Regions from separate parts of the Homo sapiens genome. Here all the other regions are linked to region 3. The links are contacts of gene promoters, found by promoter capture Hi-C in human tissues and cell types (Jung and others, 2019). All regions are on one chromosome and are shown on one strand. Each heading gives the region's core, a stretch centred on a gene start or on the middle of the fragment in contact. The rest is flanking DNA. Distances are from core to core; before and after follow the strand shown.

Region 1 (2,873 bases), core at 272-2,771, 270 kb after region 3:
AGGGCCTTCACCATTGCACTGCCCTGCTAACAGGAGACCTTGAGTTGTGGTCAAGTCAGCAGATTCTTTTAAATTTTGAAATACAGATCTTGCATAATGAATGGAGAAAGGGAGAAAGAATGGCTTGTGTGCCCTTTTGTGCTCCTTGAAGTTTACATTCTGGGAAAACATGAAACTGGAGTGTCAGCCTTGGTGGAACTGAGTTGGAATGCTGACTGGCACACAAAGGGATTCTGGTCCTGTTTAACCAAGATGTGACTTTAGAATACTGAGATTGTATGACTTTATGGATCCCCAGAGGAATAGAAATTCATGGGCCAGAATGACAAACTTTTATTTTGAAAGCCACCTAGGCTCCACTTAGAGCCATCAAATGCTTGAGAATTTATTATGACTGGGCAAGCCACTGCCTAAGAGTCAGGCCAGGGTAGTGAAAATACACACGGACTTTGTCTTTGAATGACCTGAATGTGGCCTAGTTCTTCCTAGCACAGGGCTCTCTACCAGAGCTGAAAGCACAACTGTTGCATTTGCATGACATAGAAGCAGCCAAAAGCTTCCACAGTGAGGATCATGTGTCGTGTTGATGCTGAGGCATCTCCTGTGCATGGTACTGAAATCACAGAGATGACTTATGATGTGTTCTGTTTGTGTTGGCCCAAAGCCCAAACCAGAAATGTATTTCAGGCTTGGCTTTCTAGATTCTATCTCCAGTCATGTAAAAGTTCATTACGTGGACCCACTCATCCTGTCCTGCTATAGTTAAGGTCTGTCAGCATTTTTCAAAGGTTTATAATTCAACCACAAAGGAGAATGCAGTCTTTAGGCTGCAATGTGACCTATAAAGCTTAAGCCCCGGGGTCAGAAACTTTGCTTTTTTGTTGTTGTTTTTAAGTTAGGCCCTTACTAAGTTATAGTGAAGCAAAGTAATAGCTGGTGGTTTTGTTATTATTATTTGGTTTGGTTTTACAGGGATGGGAAAAGCTTCAAGTGACTTCTTGGAATGTAGATGTACCCTAAACCTAAAGAGTTGTTAGGACTATAGATTTACTTATCATCCTAGCATTCAGCTAAAGATGGGGGTTTAGTTTTTAAAAATTTAGCATTTTAAAATTGGGATGGATGAGGCTGAGAAAGTTAGAAACAAGATTGGGAATATTTCACCAAAACTCAAGGACCAATTCTCAAGCCAGAAACTTTGTATTCAAAATTCTAGTTAAAAGACTTTGGTCATATTATATAAAAATCAAGTCATTTCCCTGATGGTTAAGTTTGTTTCTGCTCATAAATTCTAAGTATTCCCACTTAGAAATTTAAGTGAAAAGTGCACATATGATAAATATAAAGTAACAAAATGATACCTTCTCATAATAAAAACACTTGAAAATTTGAGGTAAAATAGATACAAAAATACACTTTCTATGTCTGTTCAGCTGCTATAATAAACTACCATAGACTGGGTGGCTTATAAAACAACAGAAACTTATTTCTTACAGTTCTGGAGGCTGGAAGTTCAAGATCAGGACACCAGCATGGTCAGGTTCTCCCTGTTGAGGGCTCATTTCCTGGTTCACAGACAGCTGTCTTCTCATTGTGTCCTCACATGGTAGGAGAGGCAGGGGATGTCCCTGGGGTCTATTTTATAAGGGGACTAATCCCATTCGTGAAGGTACCATCCTCATGACCTAATCACTTCCCAAGGCCCCACCTCTTCACCCTGAGCATTCAACATATACATTTTAGGGGGCCACAAACATTCAGACCATATATCCACAAAAGCTTATAATCAGCAAAAGGTCTCTTAGAGTAACCTAATTTGTGGTTACTAAGGATCCCATTAAATAACCTGCTCCTGGGGTAAAAATAAAGACTGGTAAAAATCATAGCACCTTTGGTGTGGGAAGGAGGTTTTATCTGGATGGTCTCAAGTCAATTAATAGTGGGAAAAGTTCTTAATGACAGTATGTTATAAAATGCAGATTGGCAGTAGGGACAGGAGAAGAGTGTCAATGGAACTGAGTTCCAGTCCAACCTGTGTACAGTCTAGCTATGCTAAGACCTCTATAAACCTTGGTATCTTCCTTAAAATGGGGCTGGAAAATCCTATGTATATATACAGGGTTCTGGTGATGACAAAATGCAATAATACATGTAAAATGCCTGATAGAATCAGTGCCTAATATATGTTTTTCCCTTCTTCTCCCACCTTTATTAATTATACCTGAGACATAAAACAATCTAAATGCTGGAGACCAGCCACTCTAATTTGGTAGAGATCTTTTCTTAAAAGGAAAAAGTAGTTTCCCTGAGCTTTTAAGAGTGCATTTACATACAATTTGTCTATTTGTAAAAAAGACCTATTCATTAAAATAAGCCTCTAAGTAGCAAAGTGCAAGTTTTCTTAAACTCCTTTGAGTGGCACCACATGCTAACTGGGCTTCCTAAGGAAAGAACTATAAAGGTGGCTGTCTTTCCCCATTAACCCTGATTTATAGGGGGTTTTGCTCTAAGTGCATATTTGCAGAACCATTCTTAATGTGTGTGTGTTCTCTCCCCAAAAAGGAGGCACATTATTGGCCATTTGTTGTCTTTGGTCCAGTGGATACTCTTTAAACCCACTCTTACTACTCTGTAGTCAATAGCCCAAGCTCAGCTTGATGCATTAGTCCTTGTGTTTTCAAGAAAATGTGTTCGGCCAGCACCCAGCCCAGCACAGCACTTCTTTTCTTTTCACTTTTAACCATCATATCCCCTGGTTTCCAGCAGGTTCATTCACCCAGAAAATGTTTATCTTCATTGTGCCACCTCGGTACTTAACCTGGGGCAGAGGTTTGGATACTGGGGAGTGCAAGAGGAAGGGTTGGGTTGGAGGT
Region 2 (3,085 bases), core at 164-2,663, 280 kb after region 3:
AGACCAGCCTGGCCAACATGGTGAAACCCCGTATCTACTAAAAATACAAAAAATTAGCCAGGTGTGGTGGCGAGCATCTGTAATCCCAGCTACTCGAGAGGCTGAGGCAGGAGAATCACTTGAACCCAGGAGGCAGAGGTTGCAATGAGCTGAGATCATGCCATTGCAGTCCAGCCTGGCCAGCAGAGCAAGACTCTATCTCCAAAAAAAAAAAAAACAAACATTATTATAGCCATCCTCGTGAGTGTGAAATGGTATCTCATTGTGGTTTTGATTTGCATTTTCCTAATGACTCATGATGTTGAGCATCTTTTCATGTGCATATTGGCCATTTATGTTTTCTTTGGGGAAATGTTTGTTCAAACTTTTTACCCATTTTTTAAATTGAATTAATTGTCTTTTTATTCTTGAGGTGTAAGAGTTACTTATTTTGGGTATATACCCTTATTAGATATATGATTTGCAAATATTTTCATTCTATGGATTGTCTTTTCATTTTCTTGATAGTGTTCTTTGAAACACAAAAGTTTTTCATTTTGATGACATTCAATTTATTACCCATTCTTTGGTTGGTTGTGATTTTGAAAACCATCGCCTGATGCAAGCGTACAAAGATTTACTCCTCTGTTTTTTTCCTAAAAGTTTTTATTTACAGTTTTAGCTCTTACATTTAGGTTTTTGGTCCATCTTGAATTAATTTTTGTATACAGTGTGTGAGGTGGGAGTCCAGGTTCATTCTTTTGCATGTGGATATCCTGTTGTTCCAATATCATTTGATGAAAAGACCATTCTTTACCCATTGAATTGTCTTGGCACTCTGTTAAACCAATTAAACATGTGTCTATGTGTCTATCCCTATTCAGTTCTACATAGTCTTGATTACTATAGGTTTGTAGTAAGTTTTGAAATCAGGAAATATGAGTACTCTGTATTAGTATTCCACTGGAGAAACAAAACCAGTAAAATTGTGTATGTATACATATATAAAGAGATATATTACAAAGAATTTGCTAAAATCCTTAGGGCAGGGAGCCAGGAGGCACAGGCTGGGAACTTTTGGGCAGTTGCTCATGCCATAGTCCACAGGTAGAATTTCTTCTTCCTCAGAGATACCTCTTAAGGCCTTTCATCTGATTGGATCAGGCCCACCCAAACTATTGAGGATGACCTCCTACAACCAGTCAGTTGATTGTAGATGTTAATAAAATTTATAAAGTACTTTCACAGCAACACCTAGACTAGTGTTTGAATAACTCAGGACTGTACCTTGCCAGTTGATATGTAAAACTAGTCATCACCTCTTTCTATATTGTTCTTTTTCAAGACTTTTGTTGTTGTTGTTATTCTGAGTGCTTTGCATTTCCATATGAATTTTAGGGTCAGCTTATTAATTTATGCCACCAAAAAGTCAGCTGGAATATTGATAAGGATGGCATTAAATCTGTAGATTAATTTGGGGAGTACTGCTGTCTCAACAGTATTAAGTCATCTAATCCATGAACATGGGATGTCTTTCCATTTATTTAACTTCTCTAAATGATGTTTTGTAGATTTTGGTGTGCAAGTCTTGCTCTCTTTTCTTAAGTTTATTCTTAAGTATTTGATTATCTTTCATGCTATTGGAAATGGAATTTTTTCTTAATATCATCTCAGTTTATTCATTGCTACTACATAGAGATACAATTAATTTTTGTATATTGATCTTATATCCTATACCCTTGCTAACTTGCTTCTTAGCTCTAGCAGTTTTTTTGTGAATTCTTTAGGATTTTCTATCTACAAGCTTGTGTCATCTGCAAAAAGAGATTGTTTTACTTTTTTCTTTTCAATTTGGGTGCCATTTACTTATTTTTCTTGCTTTATTGCCCTGGCTAGAACCCTCAGTACAATGTTGAATAGAAGTGGTGAGAGTGGACATCCTGTTTTTTTTTTACCTTATCTTTAGTGAAAAGATTTCAGTCTTTCACCATTGAATATGATGTTAGCTGCGTTTTTCCATAGATGCCACTTATTAGATTGAGAAAATTCCCTATTATTCCTATTTTCTTCTATGTTTTTTACTATGAAAAGCTATTGGATTTTCTCAAGTGCTCTTTGTGTGTCCATTTAGATGATCGTGGTGGGTTTTTTTTTGTCCTTTATTATATTAATGTGATATATCACATTAATTGATTTTTGCATGTTAAACCAAGCTTGTATTAGAATAATTCCTACTTGGCCATGGTATATAATTTCTTCTTATCTTTTGCTGGATTCAGCTTGCTGGTATTTTGTTGAGGATTTTTGAGTCCATGTTTATAAAATATATTGGTCTGTGCTTTGCATTTCTTGTGATAGCTTTGTCTAGTTCTGATATAAGGGTAATATTGGCCTCAGAATATATTGGGAAGTATTCCTTTTTCTTCCATTTTTTAAGAAGAGTTTGTAAAGGATTTTTATTTAAATGTTTGGTATAATCACCAGAAAAGTAATCTGGGCCTGAATTTTCATCATGGGAAGTTTTAAAATTACTAATTCAACTTTCTTACTTGTTATAGGTCTATTTAAATTTTCTGTTTCTTCTTGAGTCAGTTTTGGTAGTTTATGTCTTTCTAGAAATTTTTCCATTTCATTGAGATTATCTAAGTTATTTTATTCCTTTATCATTCTTTTAATTTCTGTAACATCATTAATGATAGTCCCTTTTTTATTCCTAATTTTAATAATTTGTGTCTTTTTTTTTCCTTTGTCAGACTAGCTAGTCTAACTAAAGATTTGCCAATTTTGTTGGCAAAGAACTAACTTTCGTTGAAAACTGGATATTGAAATAGAGTATTGTGACAACTGTGGAAATCAGATTGCCTCTCCTCTGATGTTGCTGTGTGTTGTTTTTGCCGTTTGTTTGGTGAATTTCCTGAATTAATTCTGTATAGTCTGTATTTTCTGTCATGTACTCCCTTTAAAGAGAGAAGTCTCAGCCAGGTGCGGTGGCTCATGCCTATAATCCCAGCACTTTGGGAAGCCAGGGCAGCTGGATCATGAAGTCAGGAGTTCGAGGCCAGCCTGACCAACATGGTGAAACCCTGTCTCTACTAAAAATACAAAA
Region 3 (2,700 bases), core at 156-2,655:
CTTTGTTCATTAATTGAGCTCCTATTGCATTCCAGGTACTGTTAGAGGCCAGCAAGATACCTAGATGATTGAGACAGAGTCCTCGCCCTCCATGAAGTGACTGTTCATTTTAAAACCCTAAAGCTGGGTTCTTAGAGGCTACTGCAACAGCAACAACTCCCGAGTGAGTGCTTATCATGTGCCAGGCTCTGGTTACAGGCTTTAACTCTCTCAGTGGAAACAGCCTGAGTGCTGGCTTGGCTACCCCATGTCTGTGAGACTGTGGGCAAGTCATTTACTTTCCCTTTGAGTTTCAATTTCTAAAACTGTAATATGGGGATAATATATGTAAAACAGCTAAGAAGTATATACTTTTAATGACTCTTTTTAGTGTCAATGGAGGATTTGTGAGCAAATGCATATAAAACACAAGGCAAACAGGAGGTATTTAGTAAGTGGCCACGTGATTATTGAGAGACTATGGGCTTCTTCCTGTTCCTCCAGAGCAAGACTGACAGGTGTCCTATTACCCTTGCATCTTCAGAGCCTAGAGCACAGCCCTGAAAACAGCAGGCGCTCACCACTTTTTATGATCAAAGGCAGTCTCTACAGGGAAAGTCAAATCATTATGGGTATTTATGAATTACAAAATCCATAAAGTTAAACCAGGAGAAATGGACAAAAACACACTCATTGTAGAGGTCTTTAATGATCCCTTGGCTCATGGCAGAGCAGCTAGACAAAAAACAAACAAACAAACAAACATGCAAAGATTCAGAAGGCCTGAAAAAATAATGAATACAAAGAAGATAAATCGATACAGTATTCTATCTTCACATTCGGAAGACAAAAACACCTTTCAAAAAACCATGGGACATTGGCAAAAATAACCACAGATAATCCTCAATAAATCTTGCCAGGAGGCAGTACAGATGACATTGAATTCAGTGAGACTACAAATTAAAGACAAAAAGGCGAAGTATAAATTACTTGTGTAAGAACTCTCTCAACTCTTGGGTCCAAGAAGAAAGCAAAAGGGAAATTGTATGATAGCAATAAATGTGCCATTACCCAGAGTCACACAGCTAACAGTGACACAGCTGAGGCTGCTAGAACCTGGGTCTACTGTCGTCCAGCCACGAACTGGCTTGAGATCCCGGATAAGTCTCTCTGAGCCTCGGTTTCCCCTTCTGTCAAGTAGCCTCGAAGGTCCCCGGCGCTCGGTTCGGTGGCGAGTTTGAGGAGTGTGGGGGAGGGGAGGGGAGGGAGCGTGCCCGAGACGCGGGAGCCGCGACCGCTTTCTGCGAAGTCGGGGAGGGTGCGGGCGTTGAGAGGCTGCAGCAGAGGGCGCTGGGTCGCCAGCCTGGGCCGCGTCTCCCATTGGTCGGGGCTGGGGCGCTGGGCTGGAGAGTTGGTGGAAAGTGACAAGTTGAGCGAGAGAGGGAGCGTGGAGAGCTGGAGCAGCCGCCACCGCCGCCGCCGAGGGAGCCCCGGGACGGCAGCCCCTGGGCGCAGGGTGCGCTGTTCTCGGAGTCCGACCCAGGGCGACTCACGCCCACTGGTGCGACCCGGACAGCCTGGGACTGACCCGCCGGCCCAGGCGAGGCTGCAGCCAGAGGGCTGGGAAGGGATCGCGCTCGCGGCATCCAGAGGCGGCCAGGCGGAGGCGAGGGAGCAGGTTAGAGGGACAAAGAGCTTTGCAGACGTCCCCGGCGTCCTGCGAGCGCCAGCGGCCGGGACGAGGCGGCCGGGAGCCCGGGAAGAGCCCGTGGATGTTCTGCGCGCGGCCTGGGAGCCGCCGCCGCCGCCGCCTCAGCGAGAGGAGGAATGCACCGGCCGCGCCGCCGCGGGACGCGCCCGCCGCTCCTGGCGCTGCTGGCCGCGCTGCTGCTGGCCGCACGCGGGGCTGCTGCCCAAGGTAAGAGGCGCCCGCCGGCCCCCGCCCGCCCAGACCCCCTGACCCGTGGCCACCCTTCCGCCGTCCAGCCGGGCGCGGGACACGCAGGAAGCGCCGCGCTGGCTCCGGGGCGCGTCCGGCCACCCGCCACGGGGCTCGCCGGCGCCGCCAGGCCAGGGTTTGCCCCGGAGCCCCGCCAGGCCAGGGTTTGCCCCGGAGCCCCGCGGCGGGCCGGGGCGCGCCCAGGGACTCGTTCCTCGGTGCGCAGCAGCGATTGTCAGCGCTGACAGGAAGCGTGGAGGGGTTTGAGGGTCCTGGGGGTGATCGGGGCACTTCTGTGCAGGGCGTCCCCCCTTGTCTCCCTGGACCTCTAGCGCGCCCCAGCCGGTGTTCAGGCAAGTCTATCCTGCCCCCAAGTTGCGAGCCGGCCCGGAAGGCGCGGTCCAGGAGGGAGTTTGGATTTTCAGTGGTGCTCGCCAGAGCCCAGGCGGCTCGCGGATCGACGCAAACAAAAGCCCTGTCCTCCTGGGGCTCCGGCGGCCTCGCATCGCCACCGCCCCCGGCCCTCCGGCCCTCCCGAGAGTCATCATAGAGGCCAAAACTTGTGCGCCGCTGCAGCCGCTGCCACTTTGTGCAAAATGTGCTGTCAGAGGCGGCCTGCGGCTCCAAAGTGCTTTGGGTGTGCACGCGCGCGCGCGCGCGTGTGTGTGTGCGTGTTACAAACAAGAGGGGGAAAAGCCATCTAATGCATATTTGATTTTGGTAATCTCTAAAGACAATCGCAACAGTTAGAGAAAGACTTCACCGCAAGCCGGAGCGTCTTA

What was found. Contacts are between HindIII fragments. The study calls those that stand out against the background at their distance.
Region 1: a fragment that was not itself captured here is called in contact with the fragment with the promoter of ROR1 in region 3 in 5 of the 25 tissues and cell types used here (aorta, heart right ventricle, liver and 2 more).
Region 2: a fragment that was not itself captured here is called in contact with the fragment with the promoter of ROR1 in region 3 in 3 of the 25 tissues and cell types used here (aorta, heart right ventricle and mesenchymal stem cells).

What each region holds. Positions count from the first base shown.
Region 1 is chr1:64,039,085-64,041,957 of GRCh38, forward strand. All of the region lies in intron 2 of ROR1 (receptor tyrosine kinase like orphan receptor 1), which reads left to right. Among named protein-coding and RNA genes, the nearest start is that of ROR1-AS1, 72 kb to the right of the region's middle. The HindIII fragment of the contact is 6,256 bases long and covers 1-2,873 here.
Region 2 is chr1:64,056,474-64,059,558 of GRCh38, forward strand. The region is part of intron 4 of ROR1 (receptor tyrosine kinase like orphan receptor 1); the gene reads left to right. Among named protein-coding and RNA genes, the nearest start is that of ROR1-AS1, 54 kb to the right of the region's middle. The HindIII fragment of the contact is 4,077 bases long and covers 1-3,085 here.
Region 3 is chr1:63,772,612-63,775,311 of GRCh38, forward strand. ROR1 (receptor tyrosine kinase like orphan receptor 1) reads left to right here and starts at 1,406. Exons shown (of 9, transcript NM_005012.4): 1 at 1,406-1,897. The coding sequence starts at 1,807. RefSeq lists silencers at 1,473-1,522, 2,307-2,601 and an enhancer at 2,467-2,700. The HindIII fragment of the contact is 10,974 bases long and covers 1-2,700 here.